Linked DNA regions of Homo sapiens: all the other regions are linked to region 1. The links are contacts of gene promoters, found by promoter capture Hi-C in human tissues and cell types (Jung and others, 2019). All regions are on one chromosome and are shown on one strand. Each heading gives the region's core, a stretch centred on a gene start or on the middle of the fragment in contact. The rest is flanking DNA. Distances are from core to core; before and after follow the strand shown.

The links. Contacts are between HindIII fragments. The study calls those that stand out against the background at their distance.
Region 2: a contact is called between a fragment that was not itself captured here and the fragment with the promoter of PSMA6 in region 1, in 1 of the 25 tissues and cell types used here (mesendoderm cells).
Region 3: a fragment that was not itself captured here is called in contact with the fragment with the promoter of PSMA6 in region 1 in 1 of the 25 tissues and cell types used here (dorsolateral prefrontal cortex).

The regions. Positions count from the first base shown.
Region 1 is chr14:35,290,212-35,294,424 of GRCh38, forward strand. It overlaps PSMA6 (proteasome 20S subunit alpha 6), which reads left to right and starts at 2,171. Exons shown (of 7, transcript NM_002791.3): 1 at 2,171-2,341. The coding sequence starts at 2,266. The region is part of intron 9 of PRORP-PSMA6 (PRORP-PSMA6 readthrough); the gene reads left to right. RefSeq lists enhancers at 1,872-2,458, 2,175-2,254, 2,375-2,494, 2,575-2,634, 4,088-4,213. The HindIII fragment of the contact is 27,585 bases long and covers 1-4,213 here.
Region 2 is chr14:35,002,589-35,007,135 of GRCh38, forward strand. The region is part of intron 4 of SRP54 (signal recognition particle 54); the gene reads left to right. Among named protein-coding and RNA genes, the nearest start is that of SRP54, 22 kb to the left of the region's middle. The HindIII fragment of the contact is 3,646 bases long and covers 1-3,471 here.
Region 3 is chr14:35,684,142-35,688,370 of GRCh38, forward strand. RALGAPA1 (Ral GTPase activating protein catalytic subunit alpha 1) reads right to left here. Exons shown (of 42, transcript NM_001346249.2): 19 at 2,401-2,525; 20 at 788-1,004. Among named protein-coding and RNA genes, the nearest start is that of SNORA101B, 77 kb to the right of the region's middle. The HindIII fragment of the contact is 3,903 bases long and covers 1-3,492 here.

The sequences.
Region 1 (4,213 bases), core at 921-3,420:
ATAGAGCCAGCTGTTGAGGCTGTGAGACTAAGTTCATCCTCCTAGCAGCCTTACCGAGAACTCTGACTATGCAGGCAAACAGTAGGAATTACAGTATACCAGGCTCTTTCAGAGTCTGAGAAGACAAAAGTCTTCAAAAGGTCAAGAGGAGTTGGTCCTGAGAGTAGGGACCTGAACCAGAAGCAAGGGAAAACTTTTATCAGTCCACTTGGGAACTAGCCAGTGCTGGAAAGTACCCTTTGTGCCAGAGATGCTGTATGCATTTACCGTTTTCTTAACCATGTTTCAGTTTGGGATTTTTTAGATTAATAAAATAGAAATTAATTTTTAAAAACACTTGAGAAATTGGAATTCCCTTATGAAGGTCTTAGAACATTTTTTCTTTAAAATAGAAAGTTAGTTTAGGAAATACATTAAAGGAGTAAGAATCCCTACTTCAGTATTACAGCAGGCATTACAGTGCCACAAACATTAGTGTATCTTGCCTTCCTTGTACACAAACCATCTTTATCTGGGGAGAAAAACAACTATCCTAACATTATGTTTTGCATTTTGTATTCATTAAATGGGAGTGTGCCTTGGGGAAAGTCAAAATAGGCACAAATTTGCGATTTGAAAAGCCACCTGCTCTTCTCCCGGAGCTACCTCGCCAGCTTGGAATTACTCTCATTAATCCATGCAACACTAGCTGCTCTAAGCCCCATCCCCTCAGCTCTAGTTCATTATTAATCAAGGGTGCTTAACCTCATTCCCCATTACTCGTATTTCAACCTCAGTTCCACATTTTTTTTTTTTTATTTAGATAGATCTTCCTCTGTCGCCCAGGCTGGAGTGCAGTGGCGTGATCATAGCTCACTGCAACCTGGATCTCCTGGGCTCAAGCCATCCTCCCACCTTAGCCCCCCGAGTAGCTGGGACTACTGGCGCGCGCCACCACGCACAGCTAATTTTATTTTTTGTAGAGACGGGGCCTTCCTATGTTGGCCAGGCTGGAGTTAGGCTTTCTTTCTTTTTTTTTTTTTTTGAGACGGAGTCTCGCTCTGTCGCCCAGGCTGGAGTGCAGTGGCATGATCTCGGCTCACTGCAAGCTCCGCCTCTCCGGTTCACGCCGTTCTCCTGCCTCAGCCTCCCAAGTATATGGGACTACAGGCGCCCGCCACCACGCCTGGCTAATTTTTTTTGTATTTTTTAGTAGAGACGGGGTTTCACCGTGTTAGCCAGGATGGTCTCAATCTCCTGACCTCGTGATCCGCCCGCCTTGGTCTCCCAAAGTGCTGGGATTACAGGCGTGAGCCACCGCGCCCGGCCTCCGCTTTCAAGACTAAAAATTGCCTGGGCACTGTGGCTCAAGCCTGTAATCCCAGCACTCTGGGAGGCCGAGGAAGGTGGATCACTTGGGCTCAGGAGTTCGAGAGCTGCCTGACCAACATGGCGAAACCCCGCCTCTACTAAAAATACAAAATTAGCCGGTCCTGGTGGCACACGCCTATAATCCCAGCTACTCGGGAGGATGAGGCAGGAGAATCGCTTGAACTCAGGAGGGGGAGGTTGCAGTCAGCCGAGATCGCGCCATTGCACTCCAGCCTGGGCAACAAGGGCGAAACTCTGTCTCAAAAAAAAAAAAAAAAAAAAAAAAGACTAAAAATTGTCGGGGCTGCTGGCCAAAAGAAGATCTTGCCTGGCTGTCAGAAAATAATGTTCTTTCCAGCGGCTGCTTGAACCCGCTTCCTTCAGTGCCTAAATTTAACGGCTGCAGCTGCAGCTGCAACCTGTTTCCCCCGTAATAGGAATGAAAGTGGAGGATAAAAGAGGTTAGGAAGAAGGCAAGCCAGCAGTCTGACCAGACACAGGATGCATGTAAGAGACTTGTTAATTACACGTTCTATTTAGGTCACACTGATAGGCAAATCGCTATTCTGGGCCCCCAGGAAGCCTTTTCGTCCTTGCTATAGTCAATTCATTCTCCAGATGAAAGCCTGAAAGCGCCACGACCCAAGTTTCACGTCTATCCACTCAAGAGGCCTGCTTGGCGCAGGCGCATACCTTCAAAGGCCTCCCGCCCTCACTCCACCACCCCCTTAGGGGGCGGGGCCTCAGAGCTCAGTGCTCGAACTGGCTCCAGAGCCGTGAGTTCGGCATGCAAGAGCGGAAGAAACGCGGCTGGTACCCCGGAAGCAGTCGCTGCAACTTCCGGGAGGTGCTTGTGTGCCTGGTGCGGGAGCTACGGGGCCCAGGGATTGTGTTTAAAGTAGTGCTTCTACCAACATGTCCCGTGGTTCCAGCGCCGGTTTTGACCGCCACATTACCATTTTTTCACCCGAGGGTCGGCTCTACCAAGTAGGTGAGTGAACCAGGTTCGCCTGTGGGCCACCTGAATTGCCCTGTCATGGTACGTGCCTGGAGCGAGCAGACGCGGCCCGGGTTTAGTCTGGGGCCGAAGCTGGGCTGGAGCTGGGAAGGGAGAACGGCTGAAGCTGGATTGAGCTCTGTGGTGTTTGCACCCCCGTCTGGACGCAGGGATCGGGGGCCTGAAGGCCTGTCTCTGCAGGGCGAGCGGCCACACTGCGTAGACCCAATGGAGAGTTAAGGAAGATAGGGCTGTAATGCCTGACTCCGGCTTCGTGAGGCCCCTTCAGTTATTGTATTCTGTCCTGGCCAGGCACAAGGTCTGTTTCTAAAGGGTAATTGATTCCTTAACGTCTCAACTAAAATGCCTCCTCTCCGTTTTCCTTTGTTTGCAGCATGGACTTCTGTGGTTAATTCCACACAGGCACTCGAAGCCTGCTATATACCAGACACTGCTAGTCCTAGGAGATACAAATGTGAATGTTACACCCTCTTCTATACTGAAGCTCACAGCTTAGAGTGACAGATACGTTAAACAAACGGATAAAAAAAATTAAAAGTGCCAATTTACAAATATCTACAGAGTTCAAGACATCTTTGGGAATCTGATAGAATGAGTGACTCAATTCTAGAGCTGCTCTTGAGATTGGCATCCCCTTTTTACCCACATCTGTTTGAATGCTCCTGTAATTTAAATGCCGATTCTGAGTTGTAGATGAGGTACTGTGTACTAGTTTACTGAAGAACACCTGTAGTGGAAAGAAACTATCAGTTACTCGGAATAGTAATGTATTGCGCTGAAACGGTGTCAAGGTTTAGGTTATGATTATAAGCCAGACCCTTGATCTCTTACCATAGAGAATTTAGTGTCAGGAGGGCTTGATTTACATCTGGTCCGTGATGGTTTTATTTTTGAATGAGTTTAGTGGCTCCGTGTCTTGCACAGTAATATAATCATCTGTGCTTGGAATCATAAGGAGAGAGTTGGTCTGTAAATGAGGTTCTCTTCACCTGTAAATTTTAGAAATAGAGTTAAAGATAACTTGGAATGAAACTGCTCAGTGTATTACTGCATAGTGTATATAATGTAGCAAGAAACATCTTGTTGGATAATTCAGTAGCCCTTTTAATTTATCCCCAATTGAAAAACATGATTAAAGATAGAACAAAGAGATAACTGTATCCTCAAAGAATTTTCATTTATTGTATTAAATTCCTGAGTTTTAAATAATTTTCGTATATTAGACTACTGCTTTCAGCGTTCCATTCGTGATTTTTAATATGTGAACAGGAAAAGTCACTCTGAGACCTTTACTTTGTTTCTATATACTGTATTGTGAAGTCCAGCCATAAAGCATAATCGTTAATGCTTCCCAGATTTGGTGAGTGGAAAGGCTGAACACAGTGTCATTGTGATGGTTTTAAAAGATTTGGAAGAGAACATCTATCTGAAAACAAGTTCATTATCTAGACAGAATGATTTTTTATTTATTTTTATTTTTTTGAGACAGAGCTTCACTCTTGTTGCCTAGGCTGGAGTGCAATGGCGCGATCTCGGCTCCCCGCAATCTCCGCCTCCCGGGTTCAAGCAATTCTGCCTCAGCCTCCCAAGTACTGGGATTACAGGCATGCGCCACCACGCCTGGCTAATTTTGTATTTTTAGTAGAGACGAGGTTTCTCCATGTTGATCTCGAACTCCCAACCTCAGGTGATCCACCCACCTCGGCCTCCCAAAGTGCTGGGATTACAGGCGTGAGCACCGGGCCTAGCACCAGCCTAGACAGAATGATTTTAATCTCTGTGAATAACACACTCCCTCTGCTATTCAGGGCATTAATTAGACATTGTTAGGAAAATGAAAGTGAA
Region 2 (4,547 bases), core at 399-2,898, 290 kb before region 1:
CGCCCAGCTAATTTTTTTTTGTATTTTTAGTTGAGATGGGGTTTCACCATGTTGGCCAGGATGGTCTCTATCTCTTGACCTAGTGATCTGCCTGCCTTAGCCTCCCAAAGTGCTGGGACTACAACCATGAGTCACTGTGCCTGGCCTCCTTTTTTTTTTTTTTTTTTTTTTTTAAGAGACAGTCTGACTCTGTTACCCAGGCTGGAGTGTAGTGGTGCAATCATGGCTCACTGTAGCCTCAACCTCCTGGGCTCAAACAATCCTCCTGCCTCAGTGCCCCCCAAGTAGCTGGGGCTACAGGTACATGCCACCACGCCCAGCTAGTTTTTGCATTTTTTGTAGAGACAAGGTTTTGCCATGTTGCCCTAGCTGGTCTTGAACTCCTGACCTCAAGTGATCCACCTGCCTTGGCCTCCCAAAGTGTTAGGATTACACATGTCAGCCACTTTGCCTGGCCAGAAATTTTTATTGTTAGGGGCTCGTAACTGTAGGCAATTCTGGAGCATCAAGTGCTTTATTAAGAAGCATTTATTGAGTACCTACTTTATTTCAGGAAGTATGCCAAATGCTGCTGATAGCAGAAATAAATGAGACTGGTTCTTATACTCAGATGCTTATGGTCTAGAGGAATGGTGTACAAAGCAAGGTCAAAATTATTTTCATAATACTAAGACATTATTTGACTTTTGTACTATGTTGACATTTGCACTGAAAACAATGGTAGGTAAAACTCCCTGGTATGAATCAAGGCAGTGGCACCAGATGATACTAGTAGTTTCTGGACTCTCTATTTATTTATTTATTTTTGAAGACAGAGTCCCTGTCATTCAAACTAGAGTGCAGTGGCGTGATCAGAGCTCACTGCGGCCTCAAATTCCTGGGCTCGAGCGATCTTCTCTCCTCAGCCTCCAGAGAAGCTAGGACTACAGGCATGCACCACCATGTTTTTTGTTTGTTTGTTTTTTGTTTTTTTGGTTTTTTTGGTTTTTTTTTTTTTTGAGACAGGGTCTTACTCTGTTGCCCAGGCTGGAGTGCAGTGGTGTGATCATGGCTTGCTGCAGCCTCATCCTCCCTGGGCTCAGGTGATCCCTACACCTGAGCCTCCTAGTAGCTGGGACTACTACTCTTTGAGCCCAGGAGTTTGAGACCAGCCTGAGCAACATGGTGAAACCCCATCACTACAAAAAATACAAAAATTAGCTGGGAACGATGGCTTACACCTGTAAACCGAGTTACTCGGGAGGGTAAGGTGGGAGAATCGCTTGAATCCGGGAGGTGGAGGTTGCAGTGAGCCGAGACCACGCCACTGCACTCCAGCCTGGGTGACAGAGCGAGACCTGTCTCAAAATAAATAAATAAATAAATAAATAAAGCTTCCAGGCATGGTGGCGCATGCCTGTAATCCCAGTACTTTGGCAGGCCAAGGCAGGTGGATCACCTGAGGTCAGGAGTTTGAGACCAGCCTGACCAACATGGTGAAACTCCGTCTCTACTAAATAAAAAAAAAAAAAATTAGCCATGTCTAGTGGCACATGCCTGTAATCCCAGCTACTTGGGAGGCTGAGGCAGGAGAATGGCTTGAACCTGGGAGGCAGAGGTTGCAGTGAGCTGAGATGACACCATTGCACCCAGCCTAGGCCACGAGAGCGAAACTCCATCTAAAATAAAAATAAAAAGGACTTGTATCTATCATCTGTCTCTATCATGAGTTTGACAGTATCCCAGTACTTAGTTTTCTGATGAGGGTCAGTATTGATATTAATGAATAAAGTTTTTTGATTATGTATAGTGAAATATGTCAATGACGAGAGATCTGCCTAACTCAGTGAACCAATGTTTTGTGAATAGCTAGTGCGTGATGTTACAAGATCATTTACCAGTATAAGATTCATTTAAAATGCAAGATGGAATCACAGATTTTAATGTAACGAGTATAAAAGTTTATATGGTTTCAGATTCTACATTGCAGCTAACCTTTACAAACTACCATGATTATAAAGAAGCCCTGAGACCAAGAAGTTGAAAACTGCTGTTCTTGATGGTGGGAGGAAGAGAAGACAAATTTATAAAATTATTTACTAAAACATATATGTTCCAAATAATGGGTCCATAGAGAGCTGGGAGTTTTTGCCATGACATGTAGAAAATGGAGATGAATGTGGAGCAGCATCAGTGTACTGAAAGGATCTATGAGGAAGGGAAGTGGATTTATGTTTAAGACAGATTTTGCCTATTTCAAAAGTTTGCCTAAGGGTAGGTTGATGCCTAGGAAAGGTATAAGAAAATGTATTTTCCTCTCTTCTCTACCTCATGGCTTTCCTTGAAATTCAAGTATAATATAGATGATGTAATTTTTATGGATGGCTTGGCAGACTTTCTCTCAAAGGTTTAGACTTTGTGGACCACGTGATTTCTATTGCAACTACTCAGCTCTGCTGTTGTGGCACAAAAGCAGTAAATGGGTCAGGCACAGTGGCTTATACCTGTAATCTCAGCACTTCAGGAGGCCAAGGCTGGAGGATTACTTGAGGCCAAGAGTTCAAAACCAGTCTGGGCAACATAGCAATACTCCATCTCTACAAACAAATACTAAAGTTAGCCAGACATCATGGCATATGCCTGTAGTTCCAGCTACTCAGGAGGCTGAGATGGTAGGATCGCTTGAGTCCAAGAGTTCGAGACTGCAGTAAGCCATGATTGATTGTACCAGTGCATTCTAGCCTGGGTAACAGAGTAAGACCCTGTCTCAAAAAAACAAAAAAAGTGGTAAATGAATGGGCATGACTGTATTAGATTGAAATTTTTTTCAATGTAATAACTAGAAATGTAATAACTTTACAGCCTGTTGCCCAGGCCGGAGTACAGTGGCCTGATGATAGCTCATTGCAGTCTCAAACTCCTGGGCTCAAGCAATCTTACTGCCTCAGCCTCCTTGATTAGCTGGGACCACAGGTGCGTGCCACCACACCTGGCCAATTCTTTAAATTAGTAGAGACAAGATCTTGCTATGCTGCCCAAGCTGGTCTCAAACTCCTGGTCTCAATGAATCCTCCTCCTTTGTCCCCCCGCTGAAAGGGCCGGGATTATAGGCATGAGCCACCACACCCAGCCTCCATTGAAACTTTATTTGCACATAGTTTACCAACCCCTGATCTAGGACATTAACTATTATAGATTTATTATTTTATCATACATTTCAAGCTCCAAACAACTGACCCCCAAGTGAATTATTTTTTAAATGTCCCATGCTTTTTTTTGTTTTTGTTTTTGAGATGGAGTCTCGCTCTGTCACCCAGGCTGGAGTGCGGTGGCGCGATCTCGGCTCACTGCAAGCTCCGCCACCCGGGTTCATGCCATTCTCCTGCCTCAGCCTTCAGAGTAGCTGGGACTACAGGCGCCTGCCACCACGCCCGGCTAATTTTTTGTATTTTTAGCAGAGATGGGGTTTCACCGTGTTAGCCAGGATGGTCTCAATCTCCTGACCTTGTGATCCACCTGCCTCTGCCTCCCAAAGTGCTGGGATTACAGGCATGAGCCACCGCGCCCGGCCCTAAATGTCCCATGCTTTTTTAATTTGGAGACTGTCCCTATATGAACCTCAGTTTTCCACTGACTGATTTTAAAGTTGATTATTATTTTTTACTAGCCCTCTAAATGTAGTAACTTTACAGTAAATATTTGGCATTGGAGAATTTACAGTTTGACCTGGAAAATCTTTCACATATAATCTGTAATTTTGTTAAGTAAATATTTGTCAAATTGAATATGGACATTAGCACTCTCGAGTATGGCATCCACTAGCCACATGTGGTTATTGAGCATTTGTAATGTGGCTAGTCCAAACTGAGATGTGTTTTACATATAAAATACACACCAGGTTTTCAGACTTGGTATGGGAAAAGAAATGTAAAATATCTCATTAATTTTTTATATAGATTACATATGAAAATGATAATTTTTTAGATGTATTGGGGTAGATACTAAAATTAGTATCACCTGTTTTTACTTTTTAAATGTCAGTACTGGAAATTTTAAAATTCATGTGTAGCCTTCATATACATTTTTGTATTACATTTCTGTAGTGCTGATGTAGATTCCTCCTGTGGCTTAAATTTGGTTTCACATTTTATACTCCAGCTTGTTCTAAAAAATGCTGTGAGATCTTTACCTCTGAATTGGTTTGGAGTATAGACTTGATTATGACTTCTTAAATTTATGTTCTTAAATTTTACTCTGTCTTTACAAAGGGGAATAATTGTATTATAATAGCTTATGGTAGCTTTTACATGAAAATGTCCTTATTTATATAATTTAAAAGTTGTGGCAGCACAGTGGCTCACGCCTGAAATCCCAGCACTTTGAGGCTGAGACAGAAGGATTGCTTGAACCCAGAAGTTGGAAACCAGCCTGGGCAACATGGCAAGACCCTGTCTCTACAAAAAAAAATTTTTTTAGTTAACTAGGTGTGGTGGCGTGTGCCTGTAGTCCCAGTTACTTGGGAGGCTGAAGTGGGAGCATCATTTGAGCCCAGGAGGTTGAGGCTGCAG
Region 3 (4,229 bases), core at 291-2,790, 390 kb after region 1:
AGATTATAAGTAGATCGGGATAGTGTACAAGCCATGAAGGGAGGAAACATGTAATTCTCCAATGCATATCCCAGCTCTTCACAAACTTAGTTCCCAAGGTTTTGACTTCTTTTTTAAAAATTTGGTGCCCTTCACTGACTGCCAAGTGCAATATAGAATTATAGCTGAATAACTAAGTGGTAATAATATAGCACCAAATAATATTACTGATGTTATTGTAACAAGGGGCAATTATTCAAAGGAAGTTCTGGGTACTGTAGCATTGAACATAATCCAAATATTTGGTTCTCAAATATGAGTGTGTGAAACAGTGGCAACTCATAATCATGACTGGCTTTTTAGTAACAGGTCTATCCTAAATTATTTTCCTTTCTACAGTTTTGGTCTTAAAAATGTCATTTCTTTTAAGAAGGGATCACATTTTTTGTTTTTTAAATGCTCTTAATTTGGCAACATAAAGTAGCTTCAACTTAAGGTGATTCCCTAAAACTTCCTTTGAAATTTCACTGAAAATTGAAATAAAAATAAGTGGGGCCAAGAATGATGCCTTGCACCTGTAATCCCAGCTACTCGGAAGGCTGACGCAGGAGGACTGCTTCAGGCCAGGAGTTCAAGACTAGCCCAGACAACATAGCAAGACCAAATATCTAATTTTTTTTTTTCTAACGTGGGAGCCACTGCCTAAGTAACACTGGAGAGGAAGGTGATGGCTACATAATCCGTAAGTCAGTCTTGAACAGAAGACAATCAACATAAAACATAGTATTCAAATAGAAAAGATACTTGCTGTCAAATTTTCGGCCATCATATTGGAAAGCGCTGAAAGAATCCGAATGACTATCTGAGCTGATAAGATCACTGCTCCCTGCACTGGCAGGAGAAGTCCATTCTGAGGGCACACCTGGGTCATCAATAGGGCGCATCTGGTTCTGCTTGTTTAGAATATCAGGGAGGTCTTTGGGAATTTCCAGGCTGCCTGGACTACTTCCTCTTCTTGTCATAGTCTAAACGTTCAAGAAATATTTTACCATTAAGAAAAAGCTTTTATTCTCTTTAACCATCTGAAACCTTTAATTTCCAAACCATCACAATAAATGCTGAGATTTAGAGGCTGAAGTAGGAGTGGAGAACACACTCACCAAACAATCTATGTAACTGAATGGAGCTAGAGCCTGACCTATTGTTGGTCTGCCTAAAGACCCAAATATCACATGATGCTGGGCCTGTGACTCTTAAGCCTCAGCAGGATCCATGCAGTGAATATAAATTAAAACAGCAGAAAGAGTATTTAGTGGAAAAAAAGCAGCAAATAAAAAAGACAGTGGAAGAGTGGAAAGAATGACAGCAAAGATGTCATTCAATGATTTTTATCCACTCAAGGGAAAAAAGTAAGCCTAAAAAGAAAGGGGCGGGGTATATAATGGAGTTATAGAGAAGTCAAACCCAAATGAAATATGACAGTTTAAAAAAAGCAATTCCAGGTCCAGCACAGTGGCTCACTCTGGTAATCCCAGCACTTTGGGAGGCTGAGGTGGGCAGATCACCTGAGGTCAGGAGTTCGAGACCAGTCTGGCCAACATGGTGAAACCCTGTCTCTACTAAAAATAGAACAATTATCCAGGCATGGTGGTGTGCACCTGTAATCCTAGCTACTCAGGGGGCTCAGGCAGGAGGATTGCTGGAACCCGGGAGACGGAGGCTGCAGTGAGCACTGCACTCCACCCTGGGCGACAAAGCGACACTCTGTCTCAAAAGAAACTAGTTCCATATATATTTATCCTTCCCTAACAATTAAGCATTATTAGGGATAAAAGAGCTTCTGCTTTCATGTTGCCATACTCCTAACATTCAAGATAAAGATAACTTTTAAGTCTCTTCCAAAGTTATCTAAAATGGTTAAGCAGTATTTGTGCTAGCAAAACTATGGGAGCTGGTTCACAAGCAGATCTTGAGACAAAAATAAAAATTATATATGTATTTTTATTTTAAATTATATATTAGATTATATTTATTTATTTATATAACTACGGGAGCTGGGGCAGAAGACCTCCATTGCTATCTTTCCCATTGAGGGCTTGCAGCTGGCACCAGGGTAACCTACGAGCAAAGACAAAAAAAGGGGAGACTAGGAAGGTAGTTGCTTATACCTGTGTATTTGTGCACAGGTACCTGTCTGATCTTTCACCCTGGTGAAAATTATGAGGCTGTTTATGTCTTTAGATAAAAAATGTTATAAAAATGTAATTCAAAAATCTTAATTCATAAAAAGGGTTATATTTTGAGGAAAGGTTATTTTGAATAAAAATTCCCATATATAAATTGACATATATGTACATAGGTATATATCTGTTAGTTTTTCTACCCTCCTCTATAAAACCAAATATATAAAATAAAACTTACCGAGGCATTACCACTTCGAAGTCGTTCTGCTATAAACTCATCCATCAGATCAGGAACATTAGCACTGCTGCCGCCAATATCACTATTAAGAGGAGGCAGTTTTTGGCTCATGTCCTCTTTATTGACTAAAAATAAATAAATAACTATATATAGTGAGGAAAAACTTAACTGCATTTTCTAACTTTGAAACAAACAACAACCCAAAACAAAGTACCTTTGCCAATTATTTGCCAAACATGCATTTATGAATAATTTCCCTTCTTTCAGATTTAATTTTAAGAATTAGTAAATTGATATTTACTTTATTTAACTAAGCAGATGTTAGTCAATCTTCAGTGTAACTTTAAACAGCAAGAAAGCTTATAGATAAGCACTAGCTGAAGTTAGGTTAATATTGCCTATAAAGAAACTGGTATATTTATCTTTTTTCCTGACTCAATGTTTCTTTTTAGAGCCTTAACAATTTATAATTCCGTATTTCCCCCAAAGAACGTTTGCAGGGAATACATCCTTTGAATCTATGCAAAACTCAGTGGGATACAAATGCATTTGAGTATTTATAAATACAAATTCTATGGTTTTGATATACTGCTGTTTCTATCCACTATAAAATCTAATTTTAATGCTTTAAGAATAAAAAGTTGACTTCCACAAATGTTTTTCTTACCAAAAAAACCCAAAATAGTTATTTTGATTTTTTTATCACTACATTATTATTATTTTTACCATTTACATTAACAAGAAAGTTTTAGACTTGGGAAACTAACTTATAGAAAATAATATGGTATCTATGTCACTACTATGCTATTGAAAAGTTGATTTCTCTGCAATGAAAGGAAAATGAGCACTGTTTATATTCCTAATAAACTACAAAGTATTTCAGATTAAAAAAACACACTGGTCAGAAGCTCACTGTGAAATACCATTATCTTTATATTACTGGCCAGGCTTTGCTAAGCTGTCAAATACTGCCCTCAGGTGGCATTAATGGCTCAATGCAAGATGCATTATACAGCGTTGTTAATCATGCTAACAAAACCATGTTAAAACAAATAAAATCAAAACCAACCTTACTGCTGAAAGTTAATAGTCTATATATGTAAAGTTATTTTAACTTTGACTCAAGATAGAGAAAACAGTTACCATAATCTTGCTTTCTGTTATCTGTCCATAGAGGTTCCATATTTAAATCATGAGTGGCTACTGTGAAACCTTTATGCACATTTAAAATCTCAGAAAAAAACAAAGTAATTAAAGTGTTTCAAGGACATAACTTGCATTCTATATAAATGAATGCAAAACTAAAAGCCTACAGCATGTTTGGAAATGGCTTAAATGAAAAGTGATTAAATTCACTTTGAGATTTAAGAAATAATTTCCTCATCACTGATAGTTAACTATAATGTTGGTGCTGGCTGTAGGACCTTGATTTCTATTATGTTAGTTGTCAAAATAATTTCTATCAAGAAAAAATACAAAACCAAATAGATCAGCAGTAAAAATAAGTGAAATCAGTTAGATATATCTGGTGCCCTTTTAAACTATAGTGGGGTGGGGAAGAAAGCATAGTAACTCCTTGATAATCTTAATTTCCATACTTGTGGTATACACTCAGAAAAATACTTGATTTAGGTAGTCTTTGATAGGTTATTGAAATTTTCCTATATATCCACTTTCCTATGTTGTTGTTCAGCAGCAAAGAGGTTTAACTAAATGCCTTATAAGGGAAATTAGTAATTTAAATAAACATTCTATGCTGGGAAAAATACAGCTGGGAAAAGGCGCATGCATAACCAAACAGAGAGAAAGCAGTGACCATCCCAAAGCTT